Linked DNA regions of Homo sapiens: region 2 is linked to region 1. Evidence: promoter capture Hi-C in human tissues and cell types (Jung and others, 2019). All regions are on one chromosome and are shown on one strand. The core of a region is centred on a gene start or on the middle of the fragment in contact, and the rest is flanking DNA. Distances in the headings are between cores, read along the strand shown. Region 1 holds the start of TPGS2 (tubulin polyglutamylase complex subunit 2). Region 2 has its middle 6.5 kb from the start of FHOD3.

What was found. Contacts are between HindIII fragments. The study calls those that stand out against the background at their distance.
Region 2: a fragment that was not itself captured here is called in contact with the fragment with the promoter of TPGS2 in region 1 in 1 of the 25 tissues and cell types used here (IMR-90 fibroblasts).

Annotation. Positions count from the first base shown.
Region 1 is chr18:36,827,133-36,833,541 of GRCh38, reverse strand. It overlaps TPGS2 (tubulin polyglutamylase complex subunit 2), which reads left to right and starts at 4,540. Exons shown (of 7, transcript NM_015476.4): 1 at 4,540-4,859. The coding sequence starts at 4,775. It overlaps KIAA1328, which reads right to left and starts at 4,415. Exons shown (of 10, transcript NM_020776.3): 1 at 4,346-4,415. The coding sequence starts at 4,403. RefSeq lists a silencer at 4,181-4,780 and enhancers at 4,178-4,970, 5,071-5,180. The HindIII fragment of the contact is 11,405 bases long and covers 1-6,409 here.
Region 2 is chr18:36,288,064-36,294,298 of GRCh38, reverse strand. No RefSeq gene overlaps it. Among named protein-coding and RNA genes, the nearest start is that of FHOD3, 6.5 kb to the left of the region's middle. The HindIII fragment of the contact is 4,811 bases long and covers 1-4,743 here.

The DNA of each region.
Region 1 (6,409 bases), core at 3,291-5,790:
TAATTTAGATTAAAAGCCAAAGTATTAACAACAGCCTGCAATGCTCAAGATCTGATCCCTGTAACTTGTTACATCTCTGATCTCACTTGCTACTATTCCTCTCACTCATTCCTGGCTTTCTTATAATTGTTAACAAGCTATGCAAGCTCCTACCTTATAGCTTCTGCAGGTATGATTTCTTCTACCCAGGAAGCTCTTTCCTCAAATATCTTCATGGCTCACTTTAGGACTTATGTCATATGTCATGTCATGTCACCTTCTGATTGAAGCTTTCACTTCCTAACCATATAGGTACTTGAAATTGCAAAACTCTCTCTTCCCACAACCTACCTACCTCCCGCTACTATCTGCCTCTTTCCTGCTTTATTTTTTCTCCACAGCACCAATATCATTGAACATAGGCCAGGTGCAGTGGCTCACGTCTGTAATCCCAGCACTTTGGGAGGCCGAGGTGGGCATATCACGAGGTCAGAAAATCGAGATCATCCTGGCTAACACGGTGAAACCCTGTCTCTACTAAAAATGTAAAAAAAAAAAATTAGCCGGGCATGGTGGCGGGTGCCTGTAGTCCCAGCTACTCCAGAGGTTGAGGCAGGAGAATGGTGTGAACCCAGAAGGCGGAGCTTGCAGTGAGCTGAGATGGCACCACTGCACTCCAGCCTGGGCAACAGACCGAGACTCTGACTCAAAAAAAAAAAAAAAAATCATTGAACATATATTTTCCTTATTCATGACCTGATCTCATCTCACTAAAATGTAGGCACCAAGAGGGTAATGATTTTTGTTTTATTTTGTTCAGTGTTGTACCCTCAAACATAAAAGAATGTCTGGCTCCATCTATGAAAGAATAAAATTGGTATTGATTTAATTTTATGAGGTGTTGTCCAACAACCTTATATGTTATATTTCTGTGATTCTAAATATGCAAACAAAACTTTTTTTTTTTTTTTTTTTTGAGACAGAGTCTCGCTCTGCCACCCAGGCTGGAGTGCAGCGGTTTGATCTCAGCTCACTGCAACCTCCACCTCCTAGGTCAAGCAATTCTCTGCCTCAGCCTCCCGAGTAGCTGGGATTACAGGTGCCCGCCGCCACACCTGGCTAATTTTTTTTGTAGTTTTAGTAGAGACGGCCGTTTCATCATGTTGGCCAGACTGGTTTTGAACTCCTGACCTTGTGATCCACCTGCTTTGGCCTCCCAAAATGCTGGGATTACAGGTGTGAGCCACCGCAAGCGGCCAACAAAACCTTTTACTTTCAGCTACATCCATGACAAATTTATTTTCAAATATATAAAACTCTAAACAAACTACTTCAATATTTTTAATAACAATATTTGAAATTGCCTCTATCCTTTCTAATAATTTGTAATGTATTTTCATCTCATTATATTAAGAACCCAAATATTTACCTCCTTCAAATCTAGAATTTCCCAACAAATGTATATTTTATGGGGAAGTCAAACAGACACATTATATACCAAATGTATAGTGGGCCTACTAGTGGGTCATTTCTAGATTATTTATAATACCTAAAACAATGTACATGCTATATAAATAGTAGTTAAATTGTACAGTTTAATTTGTATTTTTTTGTGTGCTATTTCTTTTTTTTCTCAAATATTTTCCATCCACATTTGAATGAATCAGCAGATACAGAGGGCTAACTGTAATTAGAAACCCAGGCAGAAGTGGTAGAGAGGAAGATGCACCTCTATCCCAGACCTCCAGGATTTGAAGGAAATAAGTTCAGTACTGCCCATTCTACTCTAATCTGCTGAGTTTTGCCAGCAATACATGTATATGTAATTATTATCAACCACAGAGACTTTCTGGGCTAATATATTATTTTTACCACAACATACAGTCTTTGTTTCCATTTGAAAACTCAACAGCAGAGATTATACTGCAATGTTTTGACCAGGTCACTTGCAGTTCATATTTTTTAATATCAAGTCCATGATATTGCTAATGGTAATACACTTGAGTGCATTTAAGCAGTCAAATTTAGGTACTGCTGAAACACTAACTCATTCTGACATTACTAGGAACTGTAATGAAGGACAAAGGCAACTTAAACTGAAGGAGCATATTTTGCTGGAAGATTTAACCCATAACATGACAACACCACACACTCATTGTTTACAGATGAGGTACTAAAACGTTCCTTGTGCAAAACAGCACTGCTGAATCATACTGTGCAGGAGATGTATAACTCACAACAACAACAATAAAAAAAAAAGGTGCCATTGAGTCACAGATGATCTGTCCTCTCATGATGGAAACATCAAGGACTAAGAAATCTCTCCATCACATTTCTCTAAATGTTTAGGTGAAGTATTGAAAATCTTTTTTCAATAGTGTGAAAAGAATACCAGATTATAGGTACTTACTTTTTGGTCTTTTTCTATTGAAAATTCTACTATAAAGGCTCTAGGGTGGTCTGGGAAATAATCAATATGACAAAGGAATCAAGATGCAAAGACATGTAACTAAATCAAATGATTAATAACTATCATTATGCTTTTCAGCAAATATTCAGTAACAAATTTACATTTGACATTGCTTACAGTGACATTCTCTATGGAGATTTAAAATGAAAATATCTGAGGCTCGATGTTAACTGGTCATTACGTGGAATAGTCTGAGGGGAAAGGTGACACTAGCAACTTTGCAATTCCTTTCATACATCTGAATTAGATCTTATAGGATATAATCGCCACCATTTTTCCCCTGTACAATTTCAATTCCTCACTATCTATGAGAGGACGAATATTTTACATTAAATGTTGGGAGTCAGAATACAAGAGATAACGGAGTATATATGACTTCTACATAAAATAGGGGGTGATATAACTACATGAGTAAGTGAAAGTACTGGGTGCGAAGACCAAGAGCTTAGGTTCAGTCCATATATCTATTAATACACTTATTCAGTCCCATTGCAATAGCTTGTCCCCCCCCCAAACCATTGATTCTATATTTGAACAGTACCATAGGATGCTATAAGCTAATAACCTTCAAGTATCTCCTCCATCACAAAATTATGTCAATGCAGAAGCAGTGTTTCTTGAGAAAAGACTTATCCCAATTTCCTAACTTCCTAATTCAGCCCAGTTGTCCACAGTGCACATATTCTCTTCTGAAAGGTAAAGGAAAAAATATTTAATTTGCACACTGCACTAGTATGCTTTCATCCACAGTGTATGTACATGATTTCATTTGCTTTTCACCAACCTATCAGAGACAAATGGTAATTATGTCTAGTAAGTGCAAACACTAAACACGAGCAGCACAGAATACAAACATATCCCTCTCTCTACACATGACACTAATCCTAGTAACTCAACAAAGGAGTTGATAACACAGTTTTGTAAGTTTCACTGGGAGCTAAGAAGAATGCCCAGTGATTCTGCCAAAGGTAACAGCAACGCCTCAATTAATGCCATCACCAATCCTAGCAAACACAAAAAGAGCTGCCTCTGCAAGCACTCAGTAACACAGATTGCCGTCCCTCTTTCAAGTAACCCCTCTAAGGAACGTGAAGTAAATTATCAGGACCAAAGCTCAAGCGAGAAGAGTCTACCTACTCCAAGGAAAGAAACACTCCTGTCACACAAACATCTCATCACTGCTGCTGAACTGGTAATACTACCACTGGACTAAAAAGTTCCACTGCTTCTCCACCTCACAACGATCCAAGAACTTCAATGACTGCCAGTGACCCGCACTCCACAAGTAAGTCAACAATACTTCCAGGCACAATGATTCCCATCTTACGCAGTAACCAGCACCACCAGACCACATCCCAGTAACCAAGCTCCACACCTCTCCTAAAACCCCAGTATTAAAATACATCATCACTGGAGGGCCTTTTAAGTCCGAAAGGTCCTGACTTGCTCCTAGCAATGCAGACTAAAGACAATCCTAAATCAAAACAAAAAGGCTCCCTGTCCAGCCAACACCGACTCCTCCCTCAACTTCGAGCTAGCTCCGCACACTCAAGTCAGCCTGGGGGCACTCTGACAGGGTGGGCAGAGGGACCTCGGAGGGCCATCTCAGCCCTGGACTGAGCCTGGACTCAAGGCTATCTTTCTCGAGCTCACCGGTAGTGAGCGCTGGGAAGCATCTGAGCCGTGTCCCCACACCTGCAGACAGTACCAGTCTCTCGGCCACCTAACACCCAAGCAAGGGGAGAGCCCAGCACCTAGACTGGGGCCGAGCAGCACGTCCCCATCCCCGGGGTTAGTTCGGAGCTTCTCCTCCGCTCTCGGACTGCCACGCGACGGCTCGCCCCTCGCCGTCCCGTGGAGGGCGCCGGCGCCCCCTGTCAGGCGGGCAAAGGATACAGTCCCGGCTCCAGAACGCCGCGGCACTGGGGCGGGAGGGGCCCGCCACGTCCGCCATCTTGAAACAACCGCCACTCGGGGCGTCGCGCCTGGGCCGCCACGCCTCGGCCTGCAGGCTCGGTCCCCATTGGCCGCACCACGCAGAGGCCCGCCCCCGCCTGCGCGGCCGGCCCCTGCGGGGCGAGAGGGTGGGGGCGAAGGGGAAGCTACGTCCCGGAGGTGCGGTGTGGGGCACCGGGCGGGGCCGCGGGAACCGGCGCCCCACGGAGCTGCTGCTGTCAGACCAACCCCGGGCCCCCATCATCACTGCGCCGCGCTTTCAGGCGCCGAGAACTACCGTTCCCGGCATGCCATGAAATTGGCCTCGGCGCTGAGGCGGGGTCCGGCCCTCCACCCGCTCCCGCCGCGCGCGAATCGCGGTCGCGAGCCATGGAGGAGGAGGCATCGTCCCCGGGGCTGGGCTGCAGCAAGCCGCACCTGGAGAAGCTGACCCTGGGCATCACGCGCATCCTAGGTGAGGAAAGGGGGCACGGTGCCGAGAGGGTGTGGAGGAGAAGGAAGGAGGAGCGGAGGGATGAGGTGCGGGGTGAGCGGTGCGACGCTGGCCCCAGAACAGGAGTGGACATCGCTGCTGGGACTTCCGTTGTTACAGAGGAAAGTGGGGGACCTGGGTTTGTGATTAGGCCTTGAAAGTGTTTGCCAGGAGTGTTCGGAGGCAGAGCTGGGAAGCCTGAAGTTTCCCCCACTCACCGCCAACCAAGGTCCCACCCAGGAAGGACGGGCAGAGACGTGCAAAGGGAACACAGCAAGCACCTGACGGTTGGGAAGTTGGATCTCCCCCTAGGAGGCATTCTCAGCCAGGGCATTATCCCCGAAACCCAAGACCTTTCTCTGGGGGAAGTAATGCACCCGACCTCCCAGGGCGACAACTACGTCGGGTCTGAAAGGAATCCAACCTTGCACCACTGAATGACTCAGAGTTTTTCTTTTATCGAACATTTCTTTGTTTGCTTGCTTGTTTGTATTTTGAGACAGAGTTTTGCTCTTGTTGCCCAGGCTGGAGTGCAATGGCGCGATCTCGGCTCACTGCAACCTGCGCCTCCTGGGTTCAAGCAATTCTCCTGCCTCGCCCAGCTATTTTTTTGTATTTTTAGTAGAGACAGGGTTCCACCATGTTGGCCAGGCTGGTCTCGAACTCCTGACCTCAGGTGATCCACCCGCCTCGACCTCCCAAAGTGCTGGAATTACAGGCGTGAGCCACCGCGCCTGGCCTATCAAACGTTTCTTTAGTACTCACCACTATGTTAGACGTGAGGTTAAAAATATGAAAAAGACACAGTTCTGTGAAAAAAATAAACAAATGAGGTCACTAGGAGTGTGAAAAGAGGTCAGTAATCTGTTACTCAGAGATGTCACAGAGGAGGGGACTGATCTTACCAGGGAAGTTAAAGAACATGTCACAGAGGAGATGATGCTAGATTTTGAAAGACATATAGGAGTTAGCCAGAAAACTAAGGAGGAGAAAGGTCTTTTAAGAAGGCTGAAAAGCATGCTTCAGTGCCTTCCCATCACAATTATAATAAAATCCAAATGTCTGTACCATGACCCACAAGTCCCTGTAAGATCTGCTCTCATCTCTTTCTGACTTTGTTTCCACTCTTGCCCACATGGCCTTCTAGCTGTACCTTAAACACACTAAGCGGGTTCCTGCTTCAGGGCTTTTGCAGTTTGCTAGTCCTTGCACCTGGAATTATCTTTCTCTGAATGTCTCGCTTCTTCAGGTCATTCAGATCTCTGATCAAATGTCATTATTTCAGAGAAACCTTCCCTGAATATAGTTCGAATAACCGCCGTCTTTCTTGCTCTCTCTTTCCTTACCCTGCTTTTTCTTTTATTCTTATAGCACTTTCACTACTTGAAATTATGTATTTGTTTGGTTGATTTTTAAAATTTGTGTCTCTTTTAATAGAAGTCCAAGACCAAGTGTGATTTAGGAATGAGTGGTTTTAACATATGAAAATCAATTAATAGCTGGGCATGGTGGCCCATGTCTTTAGTTCCAGC
Region 2 (6,235 bases), core at 1,089-3,588, 540 kb after region 1:
CCTTCTCTCTAGCCCTCACTTTCTATGCTAGTCTTCTAATGACTTCCCCAGACTTGCATCCTGCATTTGGTCTTCCACTGGCTTCCCCAGAGCCAGTGATCATTCTAAGATGTGTGTTTGACATATTACACCACAGGGTAAAATCCTTACATTCCAAACCCCTTAGCACAACTCACAAAGCCCTCTAAGACCTGCCTCAGTCTACCACTCCAGGCATATGGTTGGTCATTCCCAGCTTCACAGCCTGCTTTCAAGCCATGCCAAACTTATTACTCTTTCCCAGACATGCTGAGCTTTCTCATGGTGAGCATCTAAACCTAGAATGCTCTTGCCTATCTAGTCAGTCAGCTGAACCCACTTATCCTTCAATTCTCATTTCTAATGTCAACTCTTCTGGAGAGACATCTCCAACTCTACCCCAAACAAGGATTGTCTGTCTTTCTTCTGTGGTCTCAAATTACATATGCCCTTACTGTAGCACTTTTCATGTTACATTGTAAATGTATGCTTGTATATGCCTACTCCACTAACTATAAGATTTTCAGGATTGGAATTTGCCTTATTAAATTTTAATCTGAAAACTTCAGTGACTGGCACCTAAAATGAAACCTTCAGACTTTTTAATTATATAGGCTATCCTTAATTCTTTTAAGGATTTTTGCCTTGGCAAAAATTTACTAATTACTAATATTTTTTCCTCTAACAGCCAATTTTTTTCTCAGCCTAATTTTTAAATTATTTCTTTTTAGTAATGTAATGATTTATCTTAATTTAAAAGGCCAAGAGTAATAAAAAGTTATAACAAGATATCAGAAACAGACATCTGACCCTAGTTTACAACACCCCTTCTTAACATACACACTTTCCAGAGCCACTCGTTTCTAAATAGTGTGAGTACACTGCTGTACTTTGAGCTATCAATTTTAGATAATACACTGACCTTCTGTCATGCGGAGGGTTTTAGCTTCTTTATAGTCCATTTCCTTTTCCAATATTGTTCTGTCACAATGTTAGTCAAATTCTTATGCAGTGATTTTAAAATTTATGATGTTAATATTGTTCCTGTCTGTGCCAAGTTGTGTACAGGATTACATGCCCTTTCTTGTACAACTTTTTGTTTTTCCTCAAGTTAATGTTTGCCTCAATTTTTTTCATTTGATTATTATTTTTTCTTGAACAGCTGGCTAAATCATCTCATATCCTGCAACAGTCCTACAAATGCCTCTCTCAATATTGTCAAATAAGCTTTCAGTTCTATTCCATCCTCCTGCTCCAATTTGAAATGTGGCTCCCTCAGCCCTATCCTCCTGGATATTTTCTTGACTTTTCTCTTCTGCAGGTGCCCCTGGTTCCCAGCTCACTTATCTTATTATTTCTTAGTTTACACTCGCATTTTTTGTTAGTACATACTACAGTAGCTTTCTGAGAAAGGATGAAGTTTTGAAAAATTTTATGTCTCAAACAATCTTAAATCATTGTCCTAGCACTTGTCTTGGTGTGGCAGTTTTGTTGGCAAAGATGGCTACAATAATTCCTCCCACCCCTTGTATTCCCGCCATTTTCCAATATGACTTTGCCACTTCTCCTGTCACAAAGTGAAGTCTATCTCTCCACTCCTTGAGTTCGGGAGGCTTTGTGACTTGCTTTGACCAATAGAATATGGTGGAAGTGGCATTGTGTGACTTCTGAAACTAGGCCTCAAGAGACATTACGGCATCTCCTTTCACACTCTTGGAATATTGGCCTGGGACTACCATGTGAAGAGGCCAGATCTAGCCTAGGAAACCTGGTAAAGAAATTGCTACTGAAGACTGGAAAAAAAATGGTTACCTGAGTTATGCAGCAATTAAACAATTGACAGGACAATTGCCTAGAGTAATTTGGAAGATAGAAAATGTAACTAATGAGTTTATAAACTTGGCTAAGGAGATCTTTAGTCAGTATGTTGGAAGTATCTGTTGGGTACCTGTAGCTGCATATTACAATGAATTCTGTTTGCAAACAGAGTGAGTAGTTAAAATTTGCTGGGTTATAAAATAAACAATTTCTCACCCCCAGTTTCTCCAGTTAGTAAAAGACCTTCACAGTAAGAAATAATCTTGGTAAAGATCAGTTTAAAAATGTGGTTGTAGGCCAGACGCAGTGGCTCACACCTGTAATTCCCAGTGTGGGGAATTCCCAGTGTGGGAAATTCAACCACATTTTTGAGGCAGGAGGATTGCTTGAGCCCAGGAGTTCAAGGTTATAGTGGGCTATGATCATACCACTGCACTCCAGCCTGAGAGACAGAGCAAGACCCCATAGCTATGAAAAAAAAATGTTGAAATTCAGTTGTAAGACACTTTGTTACAGTCTCAGAGAGATTTAAGGTAGTGCCTAGCAGATCTTCTCATTTATACAAAAGAGCTTCTAAGAATCTTAAGGGTGTTGTTCCACAGCAGCATGACATGCCCAGAGGAGGAAGGATTATGTGTATAGTGTTTGGCACATGGAGTAAACCCTAGTAAGACTGATAGAAAATCCACAACATTTTTCAGATAGTTGTATTTATGAAAGCACTGTCAGCTTAGGCTAAAAGGGACTGAGATTGTTCAAAATAAAAAGAAACTTATGGAACTCCAACCTGAAATGGATAAGAAGCAGACAAACATAAAGAAGAATGAAATCATGTCCTTTGCAGCAACTTGGATTGAGCTAGAGGCCATTATCCTAAGTGAAATAACCCAGAAAAAGAAAATCAGATACCACATATTCTCACTTGTGAGAGCTAAACAGTGGGCACTCATGGACATAAAGATGGAAATAATAGGCACTAGGGACTCTAAAAGGGGAAGAGGAAGGAGGCAAAGGTTGAAAAGCTACCTATTTTGTTTACTGAATACCATCTCAATACTGTATTCACTGTTTGGGTGATGGTTTCACTAGAATCCCAAACCTCAACATTATGCAATATACCCACATAACAAAACTGTACCTGAATTAATAATAAAATAAAACTAAAGACCAGGCGTGGTGGCTTACACCTGTAATCCCAGCACTTTGGGAGGCTGAGGCAGGTGGATCTCCAGGTCAGGAGATCAAGACCATCCTGGCTAACACGGTGAAACCCCGTCTCTACTAAAAATACAAAAAATTAGCCGGGCGTGGTGGCAGACGCCTGTAGTCCCAGCTACTAGGGAGGCTGAGGCAGGAGAATGGCGTGAACCCAGGAGGTGGAGCTTGCAGTCAGCCGAGATCATGCCACTGCACTCCAGCCTGGGCAACAGAACGAGACTCCGTCTCAAAAAAAAAAAAAAAAAAACTAAAATTAATTAAAAAAAAAAAACTAAAGTAAGAAAGTTTCTCTGCTGCAAACACGGCAGCCATTACCTTTGGAAAAGGAAGGTTCTATCAGAGCATGGGAACTAAGGATCGTGGGGAACAAAAAACTTGGAAACCATCCCAGGAAGCAGAACTGGGCCGTAGTCTCCTGGAGTAAGAGAAACTGGCAACATGTGTCTGGCTGGAGTTCAGCATTGCTATGAATCAATGACTGCTGTGTGTCTTCCAATCTGTCTATTTTTTATTTTATTATTATTATTATTGAGATGGGTCTCACTCTGTCACCCAGGCTGGAGTGCAGTGGCGTGATCTTGGCTCACAGCAACCTTCACCTCCTGGAGATTCTCGTGCCTCAGCCTCCCAAGTAGTTGGGATTACAAGTGCACACCACTTCACCTATCTAATTTTTGTGTTTTTAGTAGAGGCGGGGTTTCACCAGTTGGCCAGGCTGGTCTCTAACTCCCGGGCTCAAACAACCCACCCACCTCAGCCTCCCAAAGTGCTAGAATCACAGGTGTAAGCCACCACACCTGGCCCCAGTCTGTCTATTTTTAAATGTGAGTGCCTCTTGAAGTTATTCTGTCCCAATTTCACCATTGCATATTGAGTGTGAAAGGGCTATACACTTTGTCTTTTACGGTAACAGGTCTCTGCATCAGAGCAGTTGTACCCGAGGAGAAAGTCCTCATCTGCATGCAGATTCAAATAATGGTTTCCTCACCACTTTCCCAGCCTCTGCCCCCTGCCCAGTCCTAAAACCACTGTCACACAATTTAGGGGTTTGTTATGGTAGCACTCTACTTCTAGGTACCAATTCCTGTTTTATTTAGTCTTTGTTGTATAAGAAACCACTCCAAAATGTAGTAGCTTAAAATAACAACCATTTTATTTTCTTTTGATTCTGTGGATCAGCAATTTGATCTGGTCTCACCTGAGATCGTTCATGTAGTTGCAGTCATCTAGAAGCTTGACTGGGACTGGTGGGACTAAAATAGCCTCCTTCCATGCCTGGTAATGTACGCTGGCTGTCAGCTGGCTGGTCCAGATGGGGGCTTCAGTTAGAATGGTTCATCTCTCCTTGGGTTTCTCATCTAATAGGCTAGACCTGGCTTCTTTACACTGGTAGACTTAGGATAGCATTCTAAGAGGTCAACAGTGGAAGCTGCAAGATCTCTTGAGACCTGGGCTTAGAAATTATGCTGTATCAGTTTTGCTACTCTTTTTTTTTTTTTGGTTGAAATAAGTTAAGATCAGCTTAGATTCAAGAAGTGGGGAAATAGATTCCACTCCCTGATGGGAGAAGTGAAATCACATTGCAAAGAGGTACACGTACCCAGATATGAAGAAATGTTGTAGTCATCTCTGAAACAATATAACACATATGTTATACAATTCTAGGTTAAAATGATTTTTACTCAGAATTTTGAGGCATTGCTTCATTGTCTTCTAATTTTTCTTGTTGCTTTAGACTATTTGTGCTGTGGTATAGCTGGCCCTCTGTGTCTGTGGGCTCTGCATCCATGGAGTCAACCTACACAGATTGGAAATATTCAAAAAAAGAATGAATGCTTGCATCTATACTAAACATGTACAGACTTTTTTTATTTGTCATTATTTCCTAAACAACACAACAGCTATTTACATAACATTTACATGATATTAGATATTATAAGTAATCTACAGATGATTTAAAGTATACAGGAGGATATGCATAGGTTATGTTAAATACTACACCATTTTATGTGAAGGACTTGAGCACCCACGGATTTTGGTATCCAAGGGAGGTCCTGGAACCAAACAACCATGAATATCAAGGGGCAACTGTATAGGTAACTCTACATTGTATAGGTAACTTTTTTCCCCTCTCTCTTTGGAAGCTTTTTGAACCTTCTCATTATTCCCAATATACTGAAATTCCATGATGAGGTGCCCTGGTGGGGATTCTTTTTCATTCATCCTGTTGTCATTTTGTGGATATTACTTAATCCAGAGATCCTGCTCTTTGATGCAGAAATGTTCTTATATCCTGTTTTTGATCATTTCCTCTCCACAGTGTTCTCTGCTTGCTCTTCCTAGAACTCCTATTATTCAGATGTTGGATCACTAAGCAGGTTCTCTAATTTTCTTAACTTTTCTGCCCTGTTCATCTCTCTGATTATTTTCTTCTACTTTTTGGGAAATTTCCTAAACTGTATTTCCTTTTCTTCTACTGAATGTTGTATTGCAGCATTCATGTTTTTACTTTTCAAGAATTCTGTCTTGTTCTGTGATTTTTCTTTTTAAAATATCTTGTTCTTATTTCCAGGATTTCCCTGATATTATTAACCACATTTTCTTTAAAGTTTTCTTCTTTTTGCTGCACTGTTTCTGTACACTTTGGGTTCTTCCTTTCTTCTTTTTCTTTCAGTTTTTTTCTTTTATAGTAGACACTTTCCTCAAATGGCATGATCCTTGGCTGTTCATCACATTGAAAGCCAACTGGGAGGCTGGGCAATGTGGCCCACTTCTGTAATCCCAGCACTTTGGGATGCCGAGGCAGGCGGATCACTTGAGGTCAGGAGTTTGAGGCCAGCCTGACCAATGTGGTGAAACCCTGTCTCTACTAAAACTACGAAAAATAGCTGGGTGTGGTGGCAGGCGCCTGTAATCCCAGCTACTTGGGAAGCTGGGGCAGGAAAATCGCTTGAACCTGGGAGGCAGAGGTTGCAGTGAGCCAGGATTGCACCACTGCACTCCAGCCTGGGCAACAGAGCGAGACTCTGCCTCAAAAAAAAAAAAAAAAAAGAAAAAGAAAAAAGAAAAGAAAGAAAGAAAGCTGATTGGAAGCTCTAGGGTATAATAGAGGCACTTTGCCTGATGGACTCCACTGCAGACCAAACCAGTGGACAAATGGCTTATTTCTTGACTATCTTTA